Linked DNA regions of Homo sapiens: regions 2 and 3 are each linked to region 1. The links are contacts of gene promoters, found by promoter capture Hi-C in blood cells and fetal thymus (Javierre and others, 2016). All regions are on one chromosome and are shown on one strand. The core of a region is centred on a gene start or on the middle of the fragment in contact, and the rest is flanking DNA. Distances in the headings are between cores, read along the strand shown.

Region 1 (2,890 bases), core at 209-2,708:
GAGGGGGAAGTTAGAGAAATGAGGAGCAATGAGGTTGGAAAGACTTGACTAGGTCTTGAAAGATCTGGTAGGCTGCACAAAAGAATTTTATTCTAGAGGTGACAAGCAACCTATGTAGAGGTGTAATCAAGAGGCCATTACACCTTTTACACATCTTATTCTGTGGTGGCAGCATGGAGAATGACTACCACACTGTTTGGAGGTTATTGAACTAATTAATTCAGGTGTGCTAAGACACTAGGATATCTCTGAGCACAGAAATATATCTCTGTGCTCAAATATTCATCTACTGTTAAATAGTCTTCATGAGCTAAATTCTTGAGAAAATCTAGAGGTGCAACTTTCCCATTTCTTTTCATCTATCAACATTTTCTTTAATAACCTGCATTTTTTTTTATCTTAACTGGATTTAACCAGCCTAGGTTGTTTTACTGTCCTTTCTTTCTGTTCTCTTTTTAACTAATCAAGACAGACTTTATTCCCTTGGTTTTGTCTACAATTTCAATGATCACTGATTTAAATTGCTGTTAAGAAACAGGTTGTGTGTGTATAATCTTATTTAACATCAGGTTTCTAATCTGGTAACATTTAACATGCAGATAAATGTACTATACTTTTATGAAATTTCATTTCTTTATACCTCTATCACAAAGCAGGGTTCTGGACGTACTATTTCACTGGCAGTTCACATTTGAGTAAGTAACTTACAGATACTGTATAGACAGTTCATTTTAAAAAGGGCCCCTGCTTAAACCTTTGTCAACAATTTGATGAATCAGCAGAACTGCTAAGATAACCTCCCATCTAGAGAAACAAAAAGGAGAAATACATATTTTTGCAATTTTTTATTACCCAAGGTAAGATCAAAAAGGTCAGTTCCTGAGATGCCATTATCCTTATTAATTCAAATAAAACAGATTCAACCAGGGTTAGGCAAAGTGCTGAATAGCAGCTTGTTGGAAAGAACAGCTCTCACGGTCATTGTACACCAAAGTTTTGTAACATTTTCCTGTGTTGGGAATGAGGATGTCAACAATGATACCTTCCCAAGTGTGGGCGATTAAGTTTTTAGCACACACACACATCTACACACACAGACATTCACTCACACATACACACACTCACACACTACTTCGGGCTGTTATTGAGCTGCTTTTGTGCACTTCGGGCCACCTCTGCAGATGCCCTTGATCTCTGGGTCCTACCCTGATCTCTCCCGGGTACTCACAGAGTCTGCGTACTGGGCGGTAAGCTGGGGATGCGTTGAATATCCTTGCAGGTGACTCTGAAGTCCTCCTCCTGATGGCACTCGCAGGGTGGAGACGAACACCCCATTCCGCCCAGGTCCCTGGGCAGGTCGAGCAGCAGCACCAGCTGCAGCAAGTCCGCCGGCCTCATTTTCCACGGGACTCGGGGCTATTTCTCCATCCTCCGAAATCGCCTCATTCTCAGCTCTGCACCTCGGGTTACCCCAGGCCAAAGGAGACCCGGGAGCGGGAGGGGTGGGAAGAGGGAGGGCTCCAAGGGGCTGTGACCTCACCACTGTGGAGGAGGCTGGAGAAGGGGAAAAAGAGGCACTTAAGTGCTCCGCTTCCCTAGGCAACCTTGACCCAAACAAGTCTGCTTGCTTCACTTTCCTTGGCTGGACCCACGCAGTCCGCTCCGTCTGTTCCCTGACACCCAACACCAGTCCTGGCTGTCCCCTCTGTTTTCCAGCCCGCCCCCCCACCCCGGGCGCCCCTCCCATTAGTTCTCTCCAAAGCCTAGTTTAGATGCCCCCTCCTTTCCTCCTCTTTAAATCCAAGGAGCCACCTTCCCTAGCGTGTAGCCTTCTAGACACCCTGTCTGCCTGGGAGCCACTCGCACGCACTCCTTATCCAGAGAAAGTCCCCGCGGAGTGGACTGTCCGCGGGCGGACCAATGTCCTGCAGAACTTCAGCTCCTCCTGGCCAGAGACACCTCTGCTGAGGGTCAGAGGCGGGCACGCAGCCCTGGCTAGCCCGCGGTGCGGCCGAAGCCGTCGCCCTGCACCCCTGGAGGATTCTCGTTGCTATCCAACTGCAGGGGCCACTCCGGTGGTTGAGTCGACTGGCAGCGGCCGCCTCACGTTGCAGCCCGCGGCTCCGCGAGGCAATTCAGGAACTGAACTTTGGGGCCATCTGCTGGGAAGAATCGGGAATGGCAGAAATAATTCCAGGTTCCCTTAATAATGGGTCCAGTATGGAAATTCTGGTCGACCCAAGAATTTCATTGAGTCATATTCCCCCTGGAAGATGGGAAGAAAAATAATACTTAAGTGGCATACTCACCATTCTTCGCACAGTAGCCAAAAAGATCATTACAAACATAAATCAGATTGTGCCTATTTCCTTCTTAAAAGTCTTCAATCACTTATTCCTCTTGGGATAAAAGGAATGTCAATTCCTTCTATACTGCATAATTCCTTTTATATGAACTTGGCTAGGACAGGAAGGAAAAAGTTGTGGTTATGGGAATCAGAATAAAGGTTAGGAAAGATTGACTAGAAAAAGACAGGAGGGAACACACAGGGTTTCCATATCGTAATTAGGCTGGAGGTTAAGTGGATGTATACATTTATCAAAATTCATTAAACCGTACATTTAAAATATGTGTATTCCAAATTTTACAGAAGCTTTATTCATAACCACTAAACGAACCAAGTGTCTCGCGACTAGATAATGGATAAACAAACTCTGATACCTCCACATTGGAATACTATTCTGCAATAAAAATGAATGAACTGCTGATACAACATGCACAAATTTTCTTTTCTTTTTTTTTTTCTTTTGAAACGGAGTCTTGCTCCGTCGCCCAGGCTGGAGTGCAATGGCGCGATCTCGGCTCACTGCAACCTTTGCCTCCGAGGTTC
Region 2 (2,890 bases), core at 153-2,652, 2.0 Mb after region 1:
AATTTTACCCCTCTGTATCTTGGCACATGGAATTTCTTCCCTGAGACCCACCTTTCTTTTCTCCAACCCCAGATGCTGGCCCTCCCCATCATCCATCAAGAAGCTGCACAGAGGGTAACTCTGATCTGAATCTTTCAGTGAGAATTAAGCAATCCTGTCTGCCTATCACATTACAGTGCTATTTATTTCTATATATTTTCCATTTGACTGTGGGCTTCTTAAGGGCAAGAACTGTGTTTCATTTATATTTGTATCTCCAGTATCTAGAATATTTCTCATAACCTCATTGACACTGAACACTGAATAAATGGTACTAAACAGAAAATTGAATACTATTTCTTTGACTTCTCTAAACTCTTGTTCCCTCTGTTTTTGTTTGCTTGCTTGTTTTTTTTCTGTGTGGTTTTTTTTTTTTTTTTTTTTTTTTTTTGCTTCACACGTAGAAAGATGTTTGGGAAACGTAGTTCATTCATTTATATAGTAATAAAATATATTAAATACCAGTGTTTTATAAACCACACAGTACTCCATATATAGAAACTCTAAAATTGAAAACTCAATCCTTGACTTTTCCCTCTATTTTTATTCTCACCTCTTTAATTATCTACACACGCACATACCACTGACAATGGAAGGCAATTTATTGAGCCTCAGGGTCATCTTTCACAACTAGCCCTTAGGCAAAAACATCTCTTTCTGAGATTTCCTTTTCCATTAATTAAATTACCACTCAGGTACTATCTCAATATCTTTGAATTTTTATTTGCTTTCTCCTCTATTACTGGACATTCTGCTAAGTTGTACCATTTGTTCCAATCAAATGGAACAGAGAAAGAGGCTTACTTGAACAAATTATCCCCCCTCCTTCCCCTTATTGCTTGCTTGTTTTGTGTCAACCACTCCCAAATGATGTTCCTGCACCTCCCGTTGCCCCCTTCATTCCATTTTCCACACAGTAGCCAGGGTGATCTTTTCAAAACTGAAGACAGATCGTGTCACTCTTCTTCCCAGTTATTCCTGAGAGTAGAACCCAAAGTCCTCAAAATGGCCTACAGGACAATTCAGGATCTGCTCCTCTGCCACTTTTCTAGTCTCATCTCTTACTTTGCTTTAGCCACACGACCTCTTTGTTGTTTCTCAAACATACCAGGCTCCTAACTAAGCTCCATTATACTTTCTGCTTCCTCTGTTTGCAATGCTTTTCCTGCAGACACCTGTATCACTCATTCCTACCCATCTTTCCTCAAATGCCACCTTCTCACTCAGGCAATCTTTTACATCATTCGTTAAAGTAGTAAACCTTGGTCCTCCTCACCCTGACATACCCTATCCTTTTTCTTTGGTTATTTTCTCCCCAACGAACTTATCACCACCTGTTATACAATTTTAATTTCTGATGTATTTACTGTCTATATCCTCCATTAGAATGTATGTTCCAAGAGTGCAGGTATTTTTGTTTCTTTTGTTCATAGTTATACCCTCAGCTTCCTTGGACAATGCTTAGCACATATTTGGAGCCCAGAATACATTGATTCAATTGATGGATGCAATCATCTTCCTTTCCTTCTAATTTCCCTCACCAATCCATGCACACACAGGAGATGGACTAATAAATGAGGTGTTGGTTGGAGACCTGGTAGTAAGTAGAGTGTGAACTGTAATCATGGGTGGGAAATCACAGCAAATGAAGAGGGTCCAGTTTGGATTTCACAAATCCAAAGATGTCCAAGTTTCTTTCTTGGCTCAGATCAGTTCAAGAAGTGTTCAGAGACTCCGGCACAGAACTGGGAATAGGACTGGGATGTGTCAGTCCAGGCAGAGTCTTTAGGGCTGCCAGGGAGCCAATACATAAATAGCTGATAATAATGAGAATTCTAGAATAGTGGCTTCCAAACTAGCACCATGGGGATCAAGAAAAGACGATCCTGAGATTACCAAGTGTGGGGAAAGCCAGAGCTCCCACCTTCCCATGAGGCATCTCCAAACAAAGCAGTCCAGATTTCATCTGTTTTCTCTTTATGGACTTCAAGTAGGCTTTATTTCTTTTAAACAAAAGATTTTATCTGCTACAAACAAAGGCACAAGCAGAAACTTTAAACCTCATGGTTATATTCCCATGCCAACGAATATGAACATTTCTAAAGATTAGAAGAGGACATTGGATTTAGTGATTAGAAGGCTGTTAATATCTTAGAGGTGGCCGGCCGCGGTGGCTCACATCTATAATCCCAGCACTTTGGGAGGCCGAGGCAGGCAGATCACAAAGTCAAGAGATCGAGACCATCCTGGCCAACGTGGTGAAACCCCATCTCTACTAAAAATACAAAAATTAGCTGGGCATGGTGGTGCACACCTGTAGTCTCAGCTACTCAGGAGGCTGAGGCAGGAGAATCGCTTAAACCCGGGAGGTGGAGGTTGCAGTGGACTGAGATTGCGCCACTACACTCCAGCCTAGCAACACAGCAAGACTCTGTCTCAAAAAAAAAAAAAAAAAAAAAAAAGAAAGAAAGAAAGAAAGAAAGAAAGAAAAGAAAGGAAAAGAAAAAAGAAAAAAATCTTAGAGGTAACATCATCTATAATGTAAGGAAGCTGTAAAAATGGAATTGAGTTTCTCATTTTTGTGCTTACTTTCCGACCTGTACTTGTCTTTAGTAGATCTTATCAAGATTGTAACTGTATAATTAGTATCTTGTTTAGTGTTTGCCTTGCCTCTTAAAATGTATACTCTATTGAAGGAGAGATCATACCTGTCTTTTTCACTGCTATAGCTTAGGTATCTAGGGCATAGTAGGGGCTGAATAAATATTTGTTGAAGGAATAAACGAAGGAACAAGGAATGAATAAACACTAGAGACATCCAATAAAGTCAGTTTCTCACTTATATATAGAT
Region 3 (2,890 bases), core at 165-2,664, 2.0 Mb after region 1:
GAATCCATACTTGAAGGGAAGAACTCTGTGGTCTATATTCTGTTAGGGTAACTCTTCTTATGTTGGCTCCAGAGCCCACACTCTGAGCTACTGTGCCACATTGGCTCCCCATCACACTTTCCATTAAGACGACCTATCATCTCCAATCCAACATTGGTCTACTGTGGCTAGCACACAATCTCACAGTTCTCTCTACTCTCTGGCCTAGAAGCAAGTTTTTTCAGATTTTCCAAGATTCTAAATGGTGCCTCCTCTCTACACCCCTTTTGCTGATGGTGGTGCTTTTTAAATATGAGCACTGAAATAGGGTCCTTGCCACTTCAGGGCTAACTCGACAATCCCAAAGATGGCACAGGGGTGCTAGAGAACAGCTATGGGAGACCAGCGGGGATAATGACGCATAAAGTCATTGTTACACTTTGTACTGGAGCTTAATATTTAATCCCCAGAATACTGGGAAGTAAGCATTTTTATCCCATTTTACAGATGACAGCAGTAAGAAACAGGGATGTTAAGTTATCTCAGCCAAGGGTAAATAGCTACTAAGTAGATGCAAAGCCAAGCTTATCTGGGTTTATATAAAACTGCCTTCTGGATGGATGATGAATGTGTGAGTGATGGGTAGAACTTCAGATCAGACCTCCATAACCAATGGTGCTTCTGAGGGAGCAGATGTGAAGGTTTGCGGAAAACAAAGGGGTAGAGGAACTAGAAATGCTTCTTGGAACTGATACTTAGACTGGGTGAGAATGGGGGTGGCTGGGTGAGGCAGCAGGGGAATTTTGAGAAGCACCACGGGTAAGGAAAGGTGAATCCCTGCCAGCCCTAGATCATGCCACTGGAGGAGGGGACATTTGTATATGGAGGTAGTTGATTATACAGTGAGCTTATATTGACTGGGATAAGCTTGTAATGTCTGTGAGAACTTAATATCCCCCAGTTAGATGCAGCGTAGATCATCCTGGTCTCAATAACCTGACTTTCTACTTCTCATTGATTTTAAGGTGATGCTGGCTATGAACTCCACGAGGCCAGTGATTGTGCCTATTTTTTTCAGAATCTAGTCCAAGGCCTAGACATGGTAGTTACTTGACATGCATTTATATGAATGTATTTAAATGCAGCTTATGGACATTGAAATTCAAAGTGTGAATTGACTGCCATCCCCTAACACAGAAACAGGGAGAAAATGTGGTTATGTGCTTATTACAACTAATTATCCTGCTTGAGGCTACATATGCTCCTACTGAATCATAATCCTAGCTACCATTTATGCAGGGTTGTGAACTGATCCAGCTCTCTTGGGACCAGTGGAAGACAAGTTCTAATTCACAGCTTGATACACATTAGGTGCCCAACAGATCAGCACTACTTGCTGCTATTAATAATTTACAAAAACATATTTAAGTGATTTATAAAAAAATCTAGTAATGGGAGTACACGGTAGTTGGGGGAAAACGTTCAAGGGAAGAAATAAGAGAAAAATATCCCATCTAAACTGAATTTGTAAATGACAATTATAAAAATCATTCTATTCAAGGAACAAATATCTGCCAACTTGTTGTACAATAACATTTATTTGTTATTACTCATTAACTCAACAACTCATCAAATATTTACTGCTTATTTATAACACACTGGACATTGACTAGTGGCTGGAGATAAAAGGAGAAATATATTTTGATCCCTGGATCAAAGTTACTTACAGTCTAATGGAGTAGAGAGTGATATAAAAATGTAATACAATGTTTTAAGTGCTTTAATACTACTATGAGTTCTTTGCATTATACCTAAGGAACACAGGGAAAGAGAGAAGCTATTGGGAGTGTGTGTGTGCATATATACATGCACATTTGGGTCTGAGTTTGGGGTTAAGAAGATAGTGGTGTTCAAGTAATACTTGTTAGAGAAAGCAAAGCTTATGCTTTTTAATGAATGTGCAGAACTAGTGCTCCAGGTAGACAAGAGATTTTAAAAACTGCCACGTATAGAGATTAAGAGAGCATGCAAGTTCAGCAAATGTCGAGTACTTCCGTGTCGTAGGGTAGTGGAGGGCATTTTTATGAGAGGTAGGAAATGAGTCTAAAGATGTAGCCAGGAGGAGATTTTAAGAACCTGCTTACAAGAACCTGCTGTACTGAAAACTTTGTGTTTTATCTCCTAGATCAAAAAGAACTCTTAAAATATCTTAAACAGGCTGCAACGTGTGTTTGCTGCATTATTTAAGATTATTCGATTTTGTCATAGCAAGCAACAAAAAGTTGGATGGAACTTATAGAATGGATTAAAGCGTAGGGAGCAAATTGATAATCTCTGAGAGCTGTGAGACATAGAGAAAATAAAAAGAGCACGTGTGTGCTGAACAAAGATAAAAAGGATGAAATAAGAGAGTTACTTCCCCATAGAAAGGGATGAAAGTACAGAGTAAACCTTAAATATTTATGAAGCTCAGACAATCTCTGTTGACTCCTTCATCCCTAAACTGGTCAACCCATTGGTGACATCCATTTTGGTCCCATTCTGGCCCCACATTTGCTCTGGTTGATACATAGAGATAAAACATATATCTAGTCACCAGGCTAATTGGCAAGTGATAGCTATGGCCAGATATACTTGCCCTTGTGTCTCCCCAGGAGGGCAATGGTGTAACAGGACCAGTGTTTCCCAGCTGTTGTATCCCTTTCTTAATCTCAACTCTGGTTCTTGTAACTACTTCATCAGCAGGGAAGACTAATATGGCAGAGAGGGAACCAAGGTAGATGAACATTGTGTAACCAAGGATTGAGATATGGTAGTCTTTCTATCCCACTTGCACACTCTCCTGTGTTTATTGAACCAATCACTTTCCCCTTGATTTATGCTTAAAGTGTACCTTAAATTGATTTAATAA

Evidence for each region. The method cuts DNA at HindIII sites, captures the fragments that hold promoters and counts their contacts. A CHiCAGO score of 5 or more calls a contact.
Region 2: a fragment that was not itself captured here is called in contact with the fragment with the promoter of TSHR in region 1 in 1 of 17 cell types (endothelial precursors); the score reaches 7.8 in endothelial precursors.
Region 3: a contact is called between a fragment that was not itself captured here and the fragment with the promoter of TSHR in region 1, in 2 of 17 cell types (endothelial precursors and M1 macrophages). The highest score is 18.8, in endothelial precursors.

Annotation. Positions count from the first base shown.
Region 1 is chr14:80,954,189-80,957,078 of GRCh38, reverse strand. It overlaps TSHR (thyroid stimulating hormone receptor), which reads right to left and starts at 1,458. Exons shown (of 10, transcript NM_000369.5): 1 at 1,229-1,458. The coding sequence starts at 1,398. It also overlaps a transcript of CEP128 not described here. The HindIII fragment of the contact is 2,816 bases long and covers 1-2,655 here.
Region 2 is chr14:78,912,886-78,915,775 of GRCh38, reverse strand. The region is part of intron 10 of NRXN3 (neurexin 3); the gene reads right to left. Among named protein-coding and RNA genes, the nearest start is that of NRXN3-AS1, 160 kb to the left of the region's middle. The HindIII fragment of the contact is 4,100 bases long and covers 1-2,890 here.
Region 3 is chr14:78,939,301-78,942,190 of GRCh38, reverse strand. The region is part of intron 10 of NRXN3 (neurexin 3); the gene reads right to left. Among named protein-coding and RNA genes, the nearest start is that of NRXN3-AS1, 130 kb to the left of the region's middle. The HindIII fragment of the contact is 1,012 bases long and covers 909-1,920 here.